Linked DNA regions of Homo sapiens: region 2 is linked to region 1. The links are contacts of gene promoters, found by promoter capture Hi-C in human tissues and cell types (Jung and others, 2019). All regions are on one chromosome and are shown on one strand. The core of a region is centred on a gene start or on the middle of the fragment in contact, and the rest is flanking DNA. Distances in the headings are between cores, read along the strand shown. Region 1 holds the start of TANC1 (tetratricopeptide repeat, ankyrin repeat and coiled-coil containing 1). Region 2 overlaps BAZ2B (bromodomain adjacent to zinc finger domain 2B).

Region 1 (2,880 bases), core at 312-2,811:
AAGATTTCGTTTCAAGATAAATTAAATAAAACATTACCATATTTTTCAGCAATGAAACATTTCAGATGGAGAAAGAAGTCAATAGTTTTCTGGTTTAAGTTTGTATTTTTATTTTCAATATTCTATCCTGCCTTGTTTCGGGAATACTTCAAGGCCGCTGATGTGTTTACTGCTCAAATATCAACACAGCAGTAATCAGGCCTTTGAAACTATGGGTGAAAAATCCAGTCCATTTCAGTCTTTTTAATTTATGAAAAGAGATTGTGTGGCATTTTGCTTCCTGTCCCTTTTCATAAGAACTTTAAATATGGACACCCCTCCTGCTGGTGTCTTTATATAGGGAAGCTCTGCGTGAGGTTGAAGTTTTTATGAGGAAACTTGTTTAAAACACAATCGTATTTTAAGGCGGGTTTGCCACAGCAAGGTTAGGGGTTACCAATAAATCGGTTTACAGCAACTTCTCTATTCTCTGCTCCAGACACACCAATGGGGTGACCCGTGCACAATTCCCGCTGGCCACACAAGGCAGCGGCAGTTCTAGTTGATCCTTCCTTCGTCAACTAGATCAACGAAGGCTGTCTTAGAGAGCTTCGGGTATTAAGTGAGCAGAGTCCCTTAGGCCAATTTGGCTGCCTGGGATTCCTGGGAGGATCTTGGAGAACCCAGGACACCCGAATCCCTAGTCCCTATCCTGGTTTTTGCTCTGCTGGAGAATAACAAAACATTTTGGGAACTCAGGAGTTTAATTTACTGCCACCAACCGACAAAATAATAGCATCTTTGTGTGTTCTCTCCCCTCCGTCCCTCCCACCTCCTTCCGACAGAAGCACGACGCTGGCCCTCTGTGAATGTAGCGCAGACAGCACGGGCCAGCCCGGAGCGGTCGCAGGAGGCTCCAGACCCGCGGCCCCAGGGACGCCCGGGAAATCACCGGCCCCAGAACGTCCCCCATTCCTTTTGGGAAATAAAAAGACGCAGCCGGTGAGATGCCTTCTTAGACCTTCCAGCTCATTTAGCTGATTCTGGCCCCAGAAAGTGTGTTTGTGTTTGTGTGTAGTTAAGTGAGGCAGAGAAAATCCAAGAAAGCCGCACAAGCCACCCCAAAGCGTCCACGGAAACTCCAGCTCGGTTAATTGCTCCCATATGTCCTCCTCGGCTGTGGTAAAAAAGCAGCGAGGAGGGAAGGCCGGGTCGCTTTATTGATTTTGAAGAGGCTGTAAAAAAGACTATGGCCCATCTCATTTTGGTCCCAGAGGGGCCTAGGCGCAGCCCCGGGGGACCCGGTGCCCAGAGGGATGGTAGGGTGCTTCAGGCCCGGACCTGGCGCCGAGAGGCGGGACAAGGGGACCTCGCGCCCAAGCCCCGCGGAAAGTTCGCGCTCCGCGCTCCAGCCGGTCCCTGGATCCGCCGCAGCCCGGGGCGGGGAGGGGCGCGGGAGGCGCGGCCGGGGCGGGCGCGCGAGAGGAAGGTGCCTTCGGGAACACGCGCAAGGGCGGGGATTCGCGCTGCCAATGAGGCCCCGGTGTGGGCCGAGCAAGGCGGGGGGACGGGCCGGAGCGGAGGCTTTGCTGTGGCAGCTGCTGGAGCGGCGGCCGCCTCGGGAGCCGGAGGAGAGGCAGCCGCGGAGCGCCGAGCTGGCCTCGCCCCGAGGCCCGGCCCTGGGTGTGGGGAACCGCGCTGAGGAGCTGGAAACTTTCCCGGCAGGTAACTCCCGCAGCCCGGACTCCGCCGCGGGCCTGCGAGCGCCCCGGGCATGGCCAGCTGCCAGTGTGCGGAGAGGTCGAGAGGGACCCGGGGTGGAGAGGGTGATGGGAGAAGGGAAAGGCGTGTGGGAAAGTTTCTGGAGCGCCCCCTCCTCCGCCGGGCACACCCGGGAGCTTTCCGGGAATAGGCACAGACATGTTGGGCGCCCCGGGCCTTGGTCTCTCGGCGGCTTTGGGGAGTCCGCACCTTCCTTGCGCGGTTCCCCCGCGCCGGACCGAGCCGGCCTCCCCTGGAACCGGTGTGGTGGGAACCGGGAACGCTTGGGGCACGCTCGAGTTCTGGGACCACCCCCGCCCGGCGCGCCCGCTCGCCCCCTTTCCCGCCTTCTCTGTAGCCCTCGGGCTTGGCAAGGGCCTGGGCTACGCCTGGTACCTGGCGCGGGGGAGGCGGGGGGAGGCGCGCCTGGCACCGCGGGGTCCTGGGCGCCCCCCGGAGTGTTGGGGTGCGCGGGTCGCGAAGTTGCCGAGAGAACTTAAGCCGGAGGCATGGTATTGCCCCAGTCTGGGCTGAAAGTCTATTGCTTTGCTTCCAAGAACACTGCGATTAGCATATCCACACTCCTTTATTGGGGGTGGGGGTGAGTTAGGATTAGACGTTGGGGGTTTTTCTTTAGGGGTGGGGCGCTGAGAAGAGCGGTAATTGTCAAGATTGTGAGCCCCCTTGTTCTTGGATGCAGAGTGGTCATTTTCGGGGGACGATATCAGGGCACTGGCTTCCTGGAGGACTTTGGGGTGCGGGCGCGCAGCGCTGTGGGTGTGCGGGGCTCCCGGCTTTGGCGCGGCGGCTTTCCGGAACGCCTGGCTGGGAAGGAAGCTCTAGGCATTGTGTGGTGTGTTTGCAGACAGAAAGGTCCCTGGACCGGTGTTCTCAAAACTTACTGGACTTATTGTGTAAAGCTCCGGGAGGAAATGTGGCGTTGGCCAGGTAGAAACGCGGCGCTGCGGCCAAGGGGCGGAGGACGCCAGGCTCGGCAACGGCCTTCTCCCAGCCCCCTCCTGCCAGCTCCAGATCCGCGTGCCTCCAGTGTTGGGACCGTTCTCAGTGGCGTTGTTCCCTGCTGGAGTTAACTTGGGAGGTGAGGAGGGAACTTTCATCTTGAACTTGACCCCAGAAGCA
Region 2 (2,700 bases), core at 199-2,698, 460 kb after region 1:
TGTTATTGTTCAGAATTACAAGAGTATTTCACGGATTAACAAGAATCTAGGTCTCATCACTCCTTAACTGGGACCCCTTTCAATGCAGCTAAAGGGAATAATAAGCACATGCAGCTGAATACAACTAAGGAACAAAGGGAAAGCATTAAAGAAAACATACAGGAAATGAGATCTCCTTGGTGGGTTCTTTTTGCTGACTGGTGAGGATGTGTACTTAACACTGTAAGCTCAAAGGGAGCTGTGGTGATATGTTCAGAAATGTGTACCACTTAATGTAAAAACTGAATTTCTGCAAAAACCAGAAATTTCATTCACCTAATTTTAAGAAATGACAAAAAAAAACTTATCAAACTTGTGAAAATGCATCATATAGCGTGGCATAATCAAATGGACAAGATTCTTCCAAAACACTAGGGCATACATATCCTCTTTTGGACTGACTTATAATAATAGGGTCTTCATATTCAAATTAGTTTTTAAAACTAGCTGTACTTTTCAGAAAACTAATGTTTTCCTATATTTCATATGAAGATGCAGATGCTTTTATACCTATATAAACTGTAAAGTTATTGGTTGAATTAATAAACAGAAAAAATTTACTTAAATATGAAAAAGATACCTATTATGTCAAAGCTCCTTGTTACTGAAACATAGTTAATTGAGGCCTTAATGAGTGCTTACCACAAAGTTATATGTATAGCCATATGAACTAATTAAAGAAAGGCAATGCTCCAGAGTGTAGTGAAATTTACTTCATTTAGGTTATGGTACTACTTTTTGGTTCAAAGACTATACTTTTTAAAAAGTGGATACCTGCGGTCCATCTCTGGCTTCATAGAAGTCACCCACTCTTATTTTTGCACTGAAGCTGAAATTGTCCCTTGAGATATCCATTATTCCATTTCTGCTGAGATACTGAAAAAATCACATATTTTTCCACTTCAGGTTTTAATAATTACAACCCAGCTTTGATGTATAGCTAGCTTCAGGACACTAATGTTTTGCATATTCTATCAAGGGGCTCTAAATTTATAGGAGATCAATTTAGGTTAAGTACAATAGTCCCATACAAGAGAATATTTAGTATCAAGGAACTTTATCTGAGAAAGGAGTACACTTTTTTTTTGTACATGATCATGCTTAATAGGCACCAAATGTACATTATTTGGTGAAAAGTATGTACCTTTATTACTTCAGGGTACTGCCTAAGTTTCTTTCCACATGGAGCATAATATGCTACTTCTCCTTGAAGGCGCCCTCCAAAGTTTCTTATTCTTGTCTCTCTCTGCCAGCTACACATAACAGAAATGAAGGTTATGACATACTTAATTTCAAGAAAGCTTTTAAAAATTAAAAATAAGTTAAAGTATACATGTTCTCTAGAAAACATAAAAAATGAAAACAAAAATAAACTCCTCAAACAACCCAAATACATTAACTCTCAAAATTATTTAGATTTTTAGCTAATTCAACTAGAAAATTAATTATTCAATTTATATATTAAACTCCATCAAAATTTTTAGAAATCATACTTGATTACTTTGGGTACTCTGACATTTCAGTAACATGTTAATGTGTACTGATTTTTTACATCTGAAAAGCTTTAAGGGAGGAGTAAAGTAAACCTGGCTCTCTGCTGCTTGGGGTTCACGTACATCCAGTCTAAAAGCTGTCATTTCTAATTAAACCATTTTAGCCAAACTCTGGTTGAGTCCCTCAATTTTGACCAAAGTGGCTTTTACTGTCCTTTAATTCTATCTTCACAAAAACTTCTCACAGTCTCATGTACTCCTGCCCTTTGCCATCTGATTTGCTCTTGGTTCTTTTTCAGTCATGTTCCTACTTGGCTGTATCATCCCACCCCAGCTCTGCCATACCTCCAGGAAACAGGATTAATTTCAGTTTTCTGATATACCAAATTCCTTGCCCTTTGCTCCGGCTCTTCTGCTCTAATAAATACTATGCAGCTATGTACTTCTTCTATTAATTGTAGAGAATGAGAAATCAAGTATACATCAAACTTGCATAAATATATGGGGGAAAAAGAAAAAGGAAAACCTTATTTTGCATACCCATATTCCAATGGAATACGCAGTTCACGTTCATCTGTTACTCTTCTTCTTTTGGAAGTGCCTTTAAAAAAATTCAATTGGTTAATATAAAACATTCATTAATATAAATAATAATATTGATAGTTTAGAAACTTTTCTTTAAAAAAGTATATGTTAATAACTTGGATTTAGTGTATTTCTGTAATTTATACATTATTTTTAGATGGTTTTCAATAAAACACTGTATAAGGCAGGGGGCTTTTTTCTTCTTTTGGGTCTGAATGACAGGATAACTAGTTTTTCTCTCTAAAGAAAATACAATCCAAGGTAAAAATATACACCTTTCCTCTCATTTTATTATTAAAGAAATGGCTAGAGAAGCAGGAGAGAAATAGAGGTTTCAGAAAATCTATTTAAACTGTTGACTTTGAAAATAGGAGTTTTTGGATGCTGAAAAATTTCAACAGCTGGCTCATATATTTAAAGACGATTTAATTTCTATGTCCATATAAATCCATAGTCAAAAACACTACCAGGTCTTTTAATTAACCTAAGCCACCAAGGAACAGGATTATGATTTTATGTAAAAATTTTCTAAGACCGAGATCAAGTTTCACAAACACAAATAAGTTCATCTAAAATTAGTAGG

The links. The method cuts DNA at HindIII sites, captures the fragments that hold promoters and counts their contacts. A contact is called where the count stands out against the background at its distance.
Region 2: a contact is called between a fragment that was not itself captured here and the fragment with the promoter of TANC1 in region 1, in 1 of the 25 tissues and cell types used here (hippocampus).

The regions. Positions count from the first base shown.
Region 1 is chr2:158,967,079-158,969,958 of GRCh38, forward strand. TANC1 (tetratricopeptide repeat, ankyrin repeat and coiled-coil containing 1) reads left to right here and starts at 1,562. Exons shown (of 27, transcript NM_033394.3): 1 at 1,562-1,704. RefSeq lists silencers at 1,348-1,457, 1,518-1,597. The HindIII fragment of the contact is 16,038 bases long and covers 1-2,880 here.
Region 2 is chr2:159,427,128-159,429,827 of GRCh38, forward strand. It overlaps BAZ2B (bromodomain adjacent to zinc finger domain 2B), which reads right to left. Exons shown (of 37, transcript NM_013450.4): 11 at 2,073-2,133; 12 at 1,184-1,292; 13 at 814-915. Among named protein-coding and RNA genes, the nearest start is that of WDSUB1, 140 kb to the left of the region's middle. The HindIII fragment of the contact is 5,314 bases long and covers 1-2,700 here.